5 separate regions of the Homo sapiens genome follow, and all the other regions are linked to region 3. Evidence: promoter capture Hi-C in 16 types of primary human blood cells and fetal thymus (Javierre and others, 2016). All regions are on one chromosome and are shown on one strand. The core of a region is centred on a gene start or on the middle of the fragment in contact, and the rest is flanking DNA. Distances in the headings are between cores, read along the strand shown.

Region 1 (2,700 bases), core at 65-2,564, 270 kb after region 3:
AAGGTGACTGGGAAGCTAAAGCAACGATCACCTAAATTACAGTCCTCCAAGAAAGTTGCTTTCCTCAGGCAGAATGCCCCTCCCAAGGGCACAGACACACAAACACCGGCTGTGTTATCCCCATCCAAGACTCAGGCCACCCTGAAACCTAAGGACCATCATCAGCCCCTTGGAAGGGCCAAGGGGGTTGAGAAGCAGCAGTTGCCAGAGCAGCCTTTTGAGAAAGCTGCCTTCCAGAAACAGAATGATACCCCCAAGGGGCCTCAGCCTCCCACTGTGTCTCCCATCCGTTCCAGCCGCCCCCCACCAGCAAAGAGGAAGAAATCTCAGTCCAGGGGCAACAGCCAGCTGCTGCTATCTTAGATGGTTGAAAACTAGACGGGTGGCTCACTGCCATTGTCACCAGGTTGGAACTCTTGCCTCTGTGAGGATGCCTTCTCTACTGTGCATACCCATGAAATTTAATACACATTTTAAAACCTCTGGCCACTGAGTATTTTTGAGGGAACTGGGTGCTGCCTTTGCCGCTTTAAGGGTAAAGATGGGAGGTGGGACTGGGATCTTCTGAGGAGAGGGAATGGTTGGGTGCTACTGAGAAATAAGGTCAGTTTTAGGCTCCTGCATCCTTGGGTTTTCCCAGGAAGGGAAAGCCCTGGAGTCAGAGCTAGGGGTGATTGAACTCCGGGGAGAGGAGGGCAATAGAAGTGTAGGGGAAGGCGGGGCACACTAGCTCATGCCTGTAATCCCAGCACTTTCTGGGAGGCCAAGGCGGGTGGATCACCTGAGGTCAGGTGTTCGAGACCAGCCTGGCTAACATGGCGAAACCTCGTCTCTACTAAAAATACAAAAAATCAGCCGGGTGTGGTGGCGGGTGCCTGTAATCCCAGCTACTCGGGAGACTGAAGCAGGAGAATCGCTTGAACCTGGGAGGCTGAGGTTGCAGTGAGCCAAGATCGCGCCACTGCACTCCAGCCCGGGCGACAGTGAGACTCGGTCTCAAAAAAAAAAAAAGTCGTGTAGGGGAGATGGGCTTGCCACCAGAACCCATGGGGTACTGGAGGTCCTGGGCTTTACGCCACCCCGGCTGGAGTCCAGGCGGTGGCTCCCCTCATCACAGGGCTCGGCCTCAGACCCGGAAAGGTCCAGGGTCCGGCCTCCAATTGGAGCCTGTCATTGGCTTCCCCTCGGCCCGCCCCCTGACCTCTGCCCCGCTGCCGAGCCGCCTGATTGGTCGGCTCTGTCCCGCCGGCGCCGCATTGGCTCTTCTGGCTCGCCTTCCATCCCTGCTCCTGCACCGGTCTGCATCTCCCAGCAGAAGGCGCAGCCATGAATCCGTTATTCGGCCCCAACCTCTTCCTCCTGCAGCAGGAGCAGCAGGGCCTGGCCGGGCCACTGGGGGACTCACTGGGAGGCGACCACTTCGCCGGGGGAGGAGACTTGCCCCCGGCGCCTCTCTCGCCGGCCGGCCCTGCTGCCTACTCGCCGCCCGGGCCGGGCCCGGCCCCGCCTGCCGCCATGGCCCTCCGCAATGACCTGGGCTCCAACATCAACGTGCTCAAGACCCTGAACCTCCGGTTCCGCTGCTTCCTGGCCAAGGTGCATGAGCTGGAGCGCCGGAACCGGCTGTTGGAGAAGCAACTGCAGCAAGCGCTGGAGGAGGGTAAGCAGGGCCGGCGGGGCCTGGGTCGTCGCGACCAGGCAGTGCAGACCGGCTTCGTCAGCCCCATCCGGCCCCTGGGGCTGCAGCTGGGCGCCCGGCCGGCCGCTGTCTGCAGCCCTTCGGCGCGCGTGCTGGGCTCGCCCGCGCGCTCCCCGGCCGGCCCCCTCGCGCCCTCCGCGGCCAGCCTCTCGTCGTCCTCCACCTCCACCTCCACCACCTATTCCTCGTCGGCCCGCTTCATGCCCGGCACCATCTGGTCGTTCTCGCACGCCCGCCGGCTCGGGCCGGGACTGGAGCCCACTCTGGTGCAAGGGCCTGGCTTGTCGTGGGTGCACCCGGATGGGGTGGGCGTCCAGATCGACACCATCACGCCCGAGATCCGCGCTCTCTACAACGTGCTGGCCAAAGTGAAGCGGGAGCGGGACGAGTACAAGCGGAGGTAGGGATTGGGAAAGGGGGACAGGTCTCTCTGTGTCATACCACTCACAACGGGCCGCGAGTTGGTGTGGGTTCCGAAGAATCAGGGGTGAAAAGAATGAGAGTAAAGTTTGTGCTGTGTAATGAGGAGCTTGGAAGCAATTGGATGCAGGGAGACTAGAATCCGCAGAGAATGCAGAAGCCCTGCTCGTGACAGGAAGAAGGACGCTGGGAGCGGAACACGGGGGGATTCCTACTTTTCCGGCTTGTCTCTGCCATCCAGGCTTAACTGCGGGTTTTGTGCGGTGTGAAAGGGACTGGGGCTCTGCCCTACCGGTCTCAGCCCTGGGGCAGGTTAGGGATATAAACTTCAAAAGTAGGAGGCAAGGATATAGCGTAAATTTGGGAGACTAAATTGAGTGAAACTGGAAGGGGCTGGTGAGGGAGGGGCTGTACCTTGCAACGAGTGATTCTTTCACACCCCAAGGTTTCCCAAAGAATATTGATGGAAACCAGGTACCTGCTGTGGTTTCATAGGAAAAGCTCCGGGACCTCAAGCCATTGCTTGAGTAGGTCAACAAACTGGGAAAAGAAAGAGTGAAGGGAATTCACTAGGGTGAGGG
Region 2 (2,700 bases), core at 197-2,696, 300 kb before region 3:
GCACAATGCAGAGCTAAAGGCACCGCTCGAGGAGTCGTGTAACCTCAGGCGAATTCTTTCACTTCTGTGTGCCTGTGCTCCCTCCCAGGCCTGGTCCCGATCCACCTTCTGTCTTGTCTTTCCCACCTGCTCCTCCTCTTGGATTCCTCTCCCTTCCCGGCTGTTTTCGGAAGAGGCTCGCTCATATCCTTGACCCAGCTGTAAGGAAACTATTGTCACCCTTAATGAAACTAAAGCTTATCCTGCTGGGTCCTCATTGGAGCAAGAACCCACAGGTGAAGGGGCAGCCAGGTGGCAAAGCCCCCACCCCAGCCTGTCTCCCCACCACTCCTTCTTTTCTGAGAAGCACAGGTGGGACAAGGTGGGCCTCTTGAATGAGGGTTTATTAAAGTCTTGGAGGAAACAAAAGGGAAACAGAACAGAGAGTTATACTCACCTTGATTATCTGAGGCACAAATGCAGCCTCAGCCATGAACATATTGAAGGAAGGGATAGTCCAGTATGTAACAGACGCACCCTGCTATTGGCAAGCAAAGCACAGATGGAGTGAATTTAAAGAGTCCTTTACTAAAGGACTTTGTTTCAGGACGAAAGTCCACACAGAGCCCACAGGGTGTGGGAGATCTGAGATCTGGAACTGGGATCTCTGGGCTCTGAACTTGTTCTGTTGGGCAATCTGCTGATGGAGACCTTGTCTTCGAGTGTCAGGATGCACACTGTGGTCAGCTCCCCCTAGGTTGCAAAGGGCATTCTATCTGGGACTTGTCTTCCCTGCCCATCTGCTCTCCTTTTCAACAGCTTCTTGGTTCTTTTGAAACCTATGCTGTCTTCCCAAAGCCCTACCTCCTATTGTGTTGGCCTCCTGTAAGCCATGCTTTCATCTGTCCAGTCCTGCTCTTGGTGGGATGAACGAGAGGCCTCTACAGATCTCAAGGTGGAGGAGGAGAGGGTCAGAGCCCCCAAAGGTACTCTGGATTTGGGTAAATGCACCTGAAATACAACCATACCCAGCAAAAATAACATCCTGCTAGCTGATCGTCTGCACTTATTGTACTAAAATAATACATCTACTTCTATGAGAACCAGCGTCCGAGACAGCCACCAACAATACCTGCTTCCCAGTATTCCTGTCCTTGTGATGTCTCCTTCCACATCGGGTTGTCTGTGTGACCAATGGAATAAGGCAGAAATGATGCTACGTCACTTCCAAGGCTGGCTTATAAAAGACACTGTCACCTCTGCCTTGTTCTTTCCACCTTGGGTCACTCTGGGGAAAGCCAGCTGCTATGCCGCGAGGACACTCAAGCGTCCTATGAGGAGGGCCATGTGGCAGGGAACTGAGGCCGCCTGCCCACATCCATGTGAGTGACCGTCTGGAAGCAGACCTCCAGCCCCAGTCCCGCCTCTGGAGGACTGCAGCCTGCACCTGGACCAAAGCCTTGTGAGAGACCCTGATCCTAAACTACCCATCTCAGCCGCTTCTGGATTCCTGACCCACAGAAACTGTGTGAAATAGTACATACTTGCTGTTTTAAACAAAATGTGGGGGTGACTTTTTACAAGCAGACAGATAACTGCAACATAGTCTCAACCTTGAATTTCATTGCAAATGACCCCATCCTGACCATAACCTCAATATTCGCTAAGTGGGCAGAAGAATGGGGTTGGGGGGTGGGGGCAGTAGATGACTTCGGGCAGTAAAAATGTGTCCAGTCACAAAAAGGCATGACTCCATCCTCAGTGCTCACAGCCCTCCCATCCTAGCTCTAAGCTAGACCCTTCCACGAGTCTAGAGAGTGAAGTTCAGAGGCAGGCAGCTGCCCCCTTTCCCTTCCTCTTTGAGGCCCACCCACCTGAGTCCTGTCTGAGGACTGCCTCTCCCCTAGGTAATTGTTAAAAGGAATGTCCAGCATCTTCAGATGGTACCCTGCTCGTTTCAAAGTTGTGTGACCTTACTCTGTGGCTTCAAAAGGACAAAGACATCAGAATACAACTCAATGCACCTCACGCCATTAGACAGCATGAGTGACAAGCCGCAGGGAGGATATATCAGACAGCACCAGATCTTAGCTGGTAGGAAGCTGATTGACAAGTTCTGTGGAGGACAGAGCAGCAGAGCCCTGAAGTCCACAGCAATAAGGGGAAGATGGTGTTCTAGACACACCAGCAGGGAAGAGCCAAACCTGGATGGTCAGTTTGACCTCCCAGGGTAAGGAGCCTCTGGGTCTTCTCTACCTCTCCCAGGACCACCACAGTGAAACTAGAGCCAGAGGGTTCTTTGCTGAAAAGAGGGTGAGTGAGGTGGAGAGATGCAGATGAGAGGAGGCTTTATGCAGAAGCCATCAGGTTGTGCCATATCTAAAGCCTGGAAAAAGGAGGATACCAGCTGATAGGATTTGGCTCTATGTCCCCAACCAAATCTCATGTGGAATTGTAATCCCCACGTGTTGGAGGAGGGGCCTGGTGAGAGGTGATTGGATCATGGGGGCAGTTTCTAATGGTTTAGTGCCATCCCCCTAGTGCTGTCTCCCGATGGAATTCTCATGAGATCTGGTTGTTTAAAAGTGTGTAGACTTCTCCCTTCTTCTCTTTCTCCTGCTGCCATGTGAAGAAGGTCCTTGCTTCCCCTTCGCCTTCTGCCATGATTATAAGCTTCCTGAGGCCTCCCAGTCATGCTTCCTGTTAAGCCCGCAGAACTGT
Region 3 (2,700 bases), core at 28-2,527:
CCTCTTGAGGGTTCACAGTGAACTGGGATATGGCATCACAGCCTTCCTCCCCTACCTGCCGGTCTCCTGGATGCAGGGGTCTTGGTGCTTAGCCCCTACTTCCCCAAACCTGGGTGATCACCCTCCAGCTACCCATATCTGGGAAAATGGGAGAAAGGAGTCTGGGACCGAAGGGGGTGCTAGGGAACCTGAAGGCGGGGAAACCGCTGACATCAGAAGCATCCAGAAATGGAAAGAGGGGGAACTAGGGAGAAGGAGGAGAGTTTGAGCAGAAGAGAAAGAGGGGGCAAAGTGGTAGTATCTGAAAATAGCAGGAAAAGCTCAAACCCCCTGGAGAGGAGGCTTTGGAGGGAGGAGGGACTGGAGGAGGGAGGGAGGGAGGGAGCAGGGAATAGGAGGCTGAGAAGAAAAGCCAAATGTTCAATAAGGTGCTGACTCCCCGTGGGGAGACCTTGACTCTTCCTCCCTGGCCCAGAGCCTCAGTTTCCCTCTCATGGGAGGAAGGATGGTCCCAGTTTTAGTGCGTGATGCTGAGCTTCAGTGAGCCCTGGGAAGGGGGGTAAGGGAATCGGGTGAAACCCTGAACAGAGTGGGGCTGTAAGGAAGCACATAATGGCTTTAGGGTAAGTGGGGTAAAAATGGGGCACAGCAGTGAAAGGGTCTGTTTCCCATGGAAGCAGCTCAGACCCTTGCTTTCCCCAAGAGGTCCTGGTCCACCCCCACCCTTGGCTTCCCTCCGGAGCCCAGTACACCCTAGTTGCCATGGCAATGGCCAGCCAGAGGGAGGTGGAGGGACTTGGCCAAGAGCAGCCCCCAGTGTCCTCTCCTACAGCCCTGGACCCCTTCCCACCCACCTCCACCCAGGCCCAGCTGGTGGGCTCAGGATGAAAGAGATAGGGAGTCAGAGAGGGAAGGAGGCAGGAAAGATGTGAAGGACAGAGAGAGGGAGGTGAAGGACAGGGAGAGATCAGAGGAAGGTGGGAAGGGGGATCTGGGAGGTTCCCTGGCCGACGGGGTCCCTCGCCCTTTGGGGTGAAGGGGTAAGGTCAGGCGGCTCCTCCCTCCTGTCCCCCTCCAGGTTCTCCAGGGCAGAAACAGCAGGTGGCTGGGGAGGAGGGGCCGGCCTAGGGGAGAGGAGGCAGCTTGAGGGGGAAAGGGAGGCAACACAGGGGACGGGGCAGGCAGGGGTCGTCTTACCTCTCTCCGGCTGCGCCCAGCACTGCCATGGAGACCGCACTCCCGACGCGGCTCTCTCGGGCTCCCGCTGCCTGCCGGCTCCAGCTCGCCCGCCCTCCTCCCTCCTTCCCTCTCTCCCTCCCTCCCTTCCCCCGGGCCTCCCTCCTCCCCCTCAGTCCCGGCCTCCCAGGCTCAGCCCACGGCTCACTCGGTCTCTGCCCCTCTCACTCTCCAGGACCCTCTCTCCCGGGGTCGTCCTGCCAGTGAGCCCAGGCCAGAGGGAAGGCAGGACAGCTTTGTGGGGGGCGGGGGGGGGCGGGAAACGAGTGCAGGGTGGGGAACTGGACGGTGGTGACTCGGGGAGGAGGGGCAAGGAAGGCGCTGAGAGGGAGGGCGGTGAGGAGGATGGCTGGGAACCGGCTTCATTGGTGAAATGGTTCATGTCCTGCCCCCACCCCTTCCCGTTTTCAACACGAACACAAGCTCCAAGAGGCAGCTGGTGTTGTTGGGGACTGAGGAGCTAGCTGTTCGGGGAGGAGGAAGCGTGTGTCACTGTGTGTATCTGTGTGAGGGCTGGGCCTTGGGTTTGGGAGTGAGGGGGCTTGTGGTGCACACTGGGGCTGCTTGTGGAGTTGGGGGTGGTTGTGCACAAGCTAAAAGGATGTGGGCGCATGCATGCACACAGACACACACACTCTGCCTCCTCCTCCTGGAACACAAACACATATGTTGGGGATACAATTTGCACACACATGTTACAGTTTCTCATAGTCCTTTTTCTCTGCCACACACATACACCAGGAGAGCTCACACAACCCTGAGTCTCTCCCCCACGGTATATCACACACATGTAATTACAGAGTCTCAGCCTCACACACACACAGGCCCACACAGAGCCCTGTGGGTTGTGGAGGTGGGTAGCCAGCCTCCACAGAATTTTTCCCTCTCCAGGGAAACTTCATCTCCTTCCTGGGGCACGCCCAGCAACCTCTCCTCTGGGTCCGACCCCAAAGACCAGAAGATTCCTGGTCCCCAGAGAAGGGGTCTCTCTCTCTCTCTCTCTCTCACACACACACACACACACACACACACACACACACACACACGAAGAGCATCTTTATAGTAAGTTTATTGTATTTTTATTTCAGCTCAGGGGAGCAGGGGTGGAGAGTGGGCACAAATGCAAAGTAAGCAAATGGGGAGCCCCAGCAGCAATAGGGGGGTCTTCCTGGAAGAGGCAGGCTTTAAAGACAGGAGGAGAAGGAAATAGGGAAAAGGAGTTGGGACTGAGGGAAGTGGTGAGGAAGGGTAGGAAGAGAGGGGATCCTGAGAGAAGTGGATCAAGAAGATTTGTAACCCTGATTTCCCTGTGTCCTGAATGGTCTGGAGGAGGGTAAGGGAGGGTGTGGGGCAGGCGCAGAGCCTGGCACAATCACCTTTGAGGTCCCTTAGAGGGTTCCCTCTCAGGCTAGCTACCCCCTCTCCCAGCAAAGCTCGCTTCCAGGAGGTTCTGCACAGGGTCAG
Region 4 (2,700 bases), core at 39-2,538, 320 kb before region 3:
TAGTGCTTTGCTGCCTATCCAGCTCGAGGAATAACATCCTTGTCCAAAATCTATCAGGCAACCAACCTAGTAGCAAAGATTCCACTCTTCAGGTAAATCGTTAAAGCTATAAATATTCCTAAGAGGAGTAACACACTTTCATGAATAAATTCCCTGCCCCCCGAACTTATGTATTACATATGTGTGTAAGGCACTGGAAACTCTAGAGATGGGGTTTCCTTCTGTCCCCCAGGCTGGAGTGCAGTGGTGCAATCATAGCCCACTGAAGCCTCAAACCCCTCGGCTCAAGCAATCCTCCCACTTCAGCCTCTGGGGTAGCTGGGACTACAGGTATGTGCCACCATGTCCAGCTAATTTTTTTATTTTTTAGAGATGAGCTATCACTATGTTGCCTAGGCTGGTCTCCAACTCCTGGCCTCCAGTGATCCTCTCAGCCTCCCAAGTAGCTGGGATCACAGGTTATCTCTAGGATAGCTTCTAACCCAACATTAAGCACTAAAATAAATATTGCTTCCCTTTGCAGTCTCTCCTAGGGCCAGCCAAGATGGAATGGGGGATGGTCAGAGGAAAAAGGGGCAGAGAGTACTCTGCCTCATCCAGTTCCAAATGTTGGGGTCCCTCAAGGCTCAGACCTAGGCCCTCTTCTCTTTCCTCTCTACACTCTTTTCCTAGAAGTCACCTCATCTGTTGCCATGGGTTTGGGTACCATAGTTATACACTGGTAACTCCAAAATCCACATCTCCAGCCCATAACTCTCCTCTGAATGCCAGATTCTCCACTTGGATGCCCACAAGTATCTCACATTTAACACGTGTAAGGTGCAAGTCCATGCCCTTTCCCAACTCCCTCAGTTTCTCCCCAGGCAGTATAAATGCTCCATCATCCATCTAGCTGCTCAAGTGGCTGACGTAGGAGACAACTTTGATCTTCCCTTTCCCTCAGCCTCCACATCCAGTCCATTAGCAGGTGCTGTTGATCCCAGGTCCAAACAGAGCTACAAGCTGCAGGTTTCTGTGCAGGTCTCTCCGTCTCCATTGCCACACATCAGTCATGTCTCCAACCCCTTTCATGAAGACTGTTGCAACAGTCCTGTTTACTGTCACCATTAGATACCTTCAATACAACCATCCCACAGTTGCCAAGGGGATCTTGTTAAAATGTAAATCTGGCCAGGCGCAGTGGCTCACGCCTGTAATCCTAGCTCTTTAGGAGGCCAAGGTGGGTGGATCACGTCAAGAGATCAAGACCATCCTGGCCAACATGGTGAAACCCCATCTCTACTAAAAATACAAAAATTAGCTGGGCGTGGTGGCACACGCCTGTAGTCCCAACTACTAGGGAAGCTGAGGCAGGAGAATCTCTTGAACCCGGGAGGCCGAGGTTGCAGTGAGCCAAGATCGCACCACTGCACTCCAGCCTAGTGACAGAGTGAGACTCCATCTCAAAAAAAAAAATAATAATAATAATAATAATAATGATGATGTAAATCTGATCAGGTCATGCCTCTGCTTTAAAATCCTTCAAAAAACACTTCCTGTCTCTCATATGACAAAAATCTAGACTAACCCTGCTGAAAAAGTCCACTGTACAACCTGATCACTGCCCATCTCTGCAACTTATCTCCAGTCTTGTTCACTGTACTCCAACCGCACTGGCCCTCTTTCCATGCTTGGAACATGCTGAGCTCTTTCTTGCCTCAGGGCCTTTGCATATGCTCTTCCCTCTTCCTGGAACCTTCCCACACTCTTCCCACACCCAGCTATTTCTCATCCTTTAGCACTAGGCTTAAATTTCCCCTCAGTCAGGTCCCCCAGGAGCACCCAATCTAAGGCAAGTTCTCCTTTCCTTGCCTCCCGCCATGCTCTGCCCCAGTCCCTTGCCTGCTTCTTTCAGAGCATTTCTCACAATTTATCATTTTACATGTCTATTTACTTTTTAAAACTTTATCTCCCCAACTGAAATGTAAGTTGAATGATGGCAAAGATTTTGTTTCATTCATTGTATTCCCAGAACCTAGCTGAATGACAGAGACTTAGTTGTATTTAATAGATACTGGTTGATTAAATGAGGGTGAATTGAAGAAAGATAGCAAGGGTAACATTACCAATATTTGCAGTGTGAGGGGGGAATCAAGAAACAGCAAATGACAGACTGTCTCTTTAAAAGAGTGCCACAGACAGCAAAACTTTTGTAGACAGCCCTCAATTATCTAGTTTATAAATTATCTGGGCACTTCTTTTCTCTCTTCTAATGCTTTTTTTTTTTTTTTTTTTTTTTTTTTGCCGTTTGCTTACTCAGCCACTCCACCAGGACTTGCAAGAGAAACAGAAGGAGGTGAAAACTCAAATTAGTCCTCACTGGTCCTTGTGGTCAGCCTGGAGAATAAATAATGAAGAGGCTGCAACTGTTGGCTCAAGAGAGGATTTTAAATATTTTATCCATTTTTATTTATCCCTCCATAATCAGGGCTGATAATAGTGAGAATTAACATATACAGAGGGAGTGCTTTTCAGTCTACAACGGTCTATTACATCATTTAATCCTAACGACTCTGGGATATAGAATTCTTTTTATCCCTATATAACAGGGTTGTTTTAACCCTGAGGTTTACACATATTAACCAAGATTTCATAGCCAGCAAATTCCCTTGGCAGGACTCAAACCCAATCTGTGTACCTCAGAATGACTTATTGTCTTGA
Region 5 (2,700 bases), core at 29-2,528, 270 kb before region 3:
GGTCACTGCCTGATGGGGAACTGCATCAGCTCTGTGAATTCTTGCAATCTATTGCCTGGGAAAGTGTCTTGCACATTAAACAGGTAGCCCATAAATGGATGAACGGGGGTGGGGGCAGAAGGGTGGAGGTTGGAGGGATTCATCTAATAAGGGAAACAAGCAGAACAGCCTACAAAGGCTTAAGAACGCAGAGTCCTGCTCTGCAGCCCAAGCCCCTCCGTGGGATGAAGTGCCATCAGATATTTGGTGCCATGGAGAGTTGATGAAGAAAGCCTTCCAAAAACAATGAAATTGTTTTTTAATTTATTTTAACTTTTAGAGACGAGATCTCACTATGTTGCCCAGGCTGGTTTCGAACTCCTGGGCTCAAGAGATCTTCCCACCCTGGCCTCGAAAAGTGCTGGCATCACAGGCATGAGCCACCACACGTGGCCAAGAGCAAAAGTTTTAAAGCAGGACACTATGGCCTGATGGACAGGAGAGACTAGGGTCCCTCCTCCCTCCCAGGGGCCTGGCTTCATCTCAGAAAAACCGAGTCCCTCTTGCTCCACACCCGCATCCTTAGCTTCAGCCCTGGCAGTTGTGTTGAGCAGATGCTAAGGAGATGGGGACATTTTACCCCCTCCGCAGCCGCCCCAGAGGGTCTCAAACCCAGGGCTGATTTAGGGTTGCCCTGACATGGCCAACCCTATTCTATGTCCAAGTGTCATTCATGGCTAAAGCAGGCCAGGGCCCCAAGGCAACCAAGCTCCTCTCTCCTCTGCCCGCTCCCACACACCCTCCTCTGCCCCAGTGTTCCTATCATTACGTCCTGGGCATTGAAACCCGGGCCATTCTTGGACCAGGGCTGTGGGCTGAATGAGGGCAGGAAGAACAGGGTCAATGGGAAAGGACAGCCCAGAAAAGAGAATTCACCACCACCTGTGGTCTCCCACTGCTTTGGTAGGAACCTTGTAAACACAGCAGCAGCCCCCAGGAAAGTCTTGGAAGAAGGGAGAAGCTGATCAGATTTAGAGACTGAGACATCTGGGCCTCCAACCCAAGGCTCCCCGGGCCCTAAAAAGCCAGACTCCCGTCTCCTTAGCCCTTTCCCTCACCGACCAGCAGGTGGCACCACAAACAGGGATTTCAAAACCAAAACTAAATTAAAGTGGAAACTCAGATCTTTTGTTTATGCAAATAGTTCATTCCCTCCAACATTCCTCCGGGAATGGTCCCCCCTCCACTCCACAGAAAACCCTCCCCTCCCTGCTGTGCATGACGCGGGCTCCCTCTGCACACAGTGCACGAAGACGCTGTCGGGAGAGCCCAGGATTCAACACGGGCCTTGAGAAATGTGAGTAAGGGTGATGGGCAACCAGGTGGGAGGGAGAAGCCAGGGGAGAAGCCAGGGCATGGGAGGCAATTCAGGGAGACAGGAACACCCTTCTCTCTTCACACACCTCATCAGTTCCACTGTGCACACGCGTGGACACACACAACACACGCCCCATCCCTCCTCCTAGGGATCAGAGGAGACTTCATACATAGATGCTCATGCCATGGTCCTTTCTTCCCTCTGGGCTCTTGGCAGGGAGCAGCGAGAGGAGGGGACCCCTTGCCCAGGACGGGACACTCTGTGCCTGTGTCCCCCACTCCACAGATGGTTTCTCCCAGACGCTCTTGCTGAACCTGTGGGAGCCCTTTCAGAGACCCACGGGTGGAAACCCTCACCCTCCATTAACTGGTCCCAAGCCAGTCCTATTCCTGGAAGGGGAGGGGAGGGACGCGTCCGGGCAGGGGAGGAGGCTGGAAAGGGAGTGTGAGGGGAGTGTGGTGGCCTCTGGACTGGACACTGCCCTGGAGAGTGACCCGATGCAGCAGCTGCACAGGCCATCCTCCCCACCCACGCACCCCTGCTGAGAACATGTCTGTGAGGTTCAGGGTGGGCAGAGAGGAGAATGCCCAGTGGTATGGCCGTCTCATCCCCTGCCACAGCCACTGCCCACATGGCAAGAGTGCTGAACCCCTCCAGCTCCAGATACTCTCTTTTGTTTTGGCAGGTGGCTCTTGTACCTCCTGGTGCCGGCCCTGTTCTGCAGGGCAGGAGGCTCCATTCCCATCCCTCAGAAGTTATTTGGGGAGGTGACTTCCCCTCTGTTCCCCAAGCCTTACCCCAACAACTTTGAAACAACCACTGTGATCACAGTCCCCACGGGATACAGGGTGAAGCTCGTCTTCCAGCAGTTTGACCTGGAGCCTTCTGAAGGCTGCTTCTATGATTATGTCAAGGTAGGGGCAGGATGGGCGGGCAGAGGGGAGACAAAACTGGGCCCTCTGGGATCTGGGATCTGTATGGCATGCACACCCCCAGACACAGCCCAGCCCCACAAGAGCTGATGGCCAACGGCCTCTCTGAGAGCCCGGGGATGCCCTGGATGGGCGCTCACTGGTGTAGAGGCCCTCGGTGAGCACTGAGGGGAGAAGCACAGAGAAGGAAGGGGACAGGACCCACTCAGGAAATTCAACATCCACTGAGTCAGGAAAACCTTCCCCATCTGCTGTCTAGCTGAGAGTCTTTGGGAAACCACTGTGCCTCAGCTTCCCTGTCTCCAAGGAAATGATTGACATGGCTGCCTGCTTCAACAGGAACACAGGGACATGAGGAGGAGAAATGTGGGCTCTGGCAGCACAGGAATAGCCTTCAGCAAGGACAGTGTG

The links. Contacts are between HindIII fragments. The CHiCAGO score rates a contact against its expected background, and 5 or more counts as called.
Region 1: a contact is called between the fragment with the promoter of IFFO1 here and the fragment with the promoter of GPR162 in region 3, in 12 of 17 cell types (activated CD4 T cells, total CD4 T cells, non-activated CD4 T cells and 9 more). The highest score is 20.2, in activated CD4 T cells.
Region 2: a fragment that was not itself captured here is called in contact with the fragment with the promoter of GPR162 in region 3 in 13 of 17 cell types (activated CD4 T cells, total B cells, total CD4 T cells and 10 more); the score reaches 12.4 in activated CD4 T cells.
Region 4: a contact is called between a fragment that was not itself captured here and the fragment with the promoter of GPR162 in region 3, in 3 of 17 cell types (activated CD4 T cells, neutrophils and naive CD8 T cells). The highest score is 5.6, in activated CD4 T cells.
Region 5: the fragment with the promoter of C1R here is called in contact with the fragment with the promoter of GPR162 in region 3 in 5 of 17 cell types (activated CD4 T cells, total B cells, naive CD4 T cells and 2 more); the score reaches 6.4 in activated CD4 T cells.

Annotation. Positions count from the first base shown.
Region 1 is chr12:6,554,656-6,557,355 of GRCh38, reverse strand. IFFO1 (intermediate filament family orphan 1) reads left to right here and starts at 1,314. Exons shown (of 10, transcript NM_001193457.2): 1 at 1,314-2,099. The coding sequence starts at 1,327. NOP2 (NOP2 nucleolar protein) reads left to right here. Exons shown (of 16, transcript NM_001258308.2): 16 at 1-485. The coding sequence ends at 363. RefSeq lists silencers at 1,137-1,296, 1,347-1,586, 1,697-1,876 and an enhancer at 2,337-2,700. The HindIII fragment of the contact is 7,963 bases long and covers 1-2,700 here.
Region 2 is chr12:7,115,765-7,118,464 of GRCh38, reverse strand. It overlaps C1RL-AS1 (C1RL antisense RNA 1), which reads right to left. Exons shown (of 12, transcript NR_026947.1): 8 at 1-2,700. It also overlaps a transcript of RBP5 not described here. Among named protein-coding and RNA genes, the nearest start is that of C1RL, 7.9 kb to the right of the region's middle. The HindIII fragment of the contact is 2,416 bases long and covers 239-2,654 here.
Region 3 is chr12:6,820,398-6,823,097 of GRCh38, reverse strand. It overlaps GPR162 (G protein-coupled receptor 162), which reads right to left and starts at 1,277. Exons shown (of 5, transcript NM_019858.2): 1 at 1,198-1,277. CD4 (CD4 molecule) reads right to left here. Exons shown (of 10, transcript NM_000616.5): 10 at 2,299-2,700. RefSeq lists an enhancer at 1,294-2,266. The HindIII fragment of the contact is 21,739 bases long and covers 1-2,700 here.
Region 4 is chr12:7,138,412-7,141,111 of GRCh38, reverse strand. The region is part of intron 8 of CLSTN3 (calsyntenin 3); the gene reads right to left. Among named protein-coding and RNA genes, the nearest start is that of CLSTN3, 9.4 kb to the right of the region's middle. The HindIII fragment of the contact is 3,167 bases long and covers 1-2,700 here.
Region 5 is chr12:7,091,023-7,093,722 of GRCh38, reverse strand. It overlaps C1R (complement C1r), which reads left to right and starts at 1,278. Exons shown (of 11, transcript NM_001733.7): 1 at 1,278-1,336; 2 at 2,043-2,271. The coding sequence starts at 1,335. RefSeq lists an enhancer at 936-1,230. The HindIII fragment of the contact is 12,054 bases long and covers 1-2,700 here.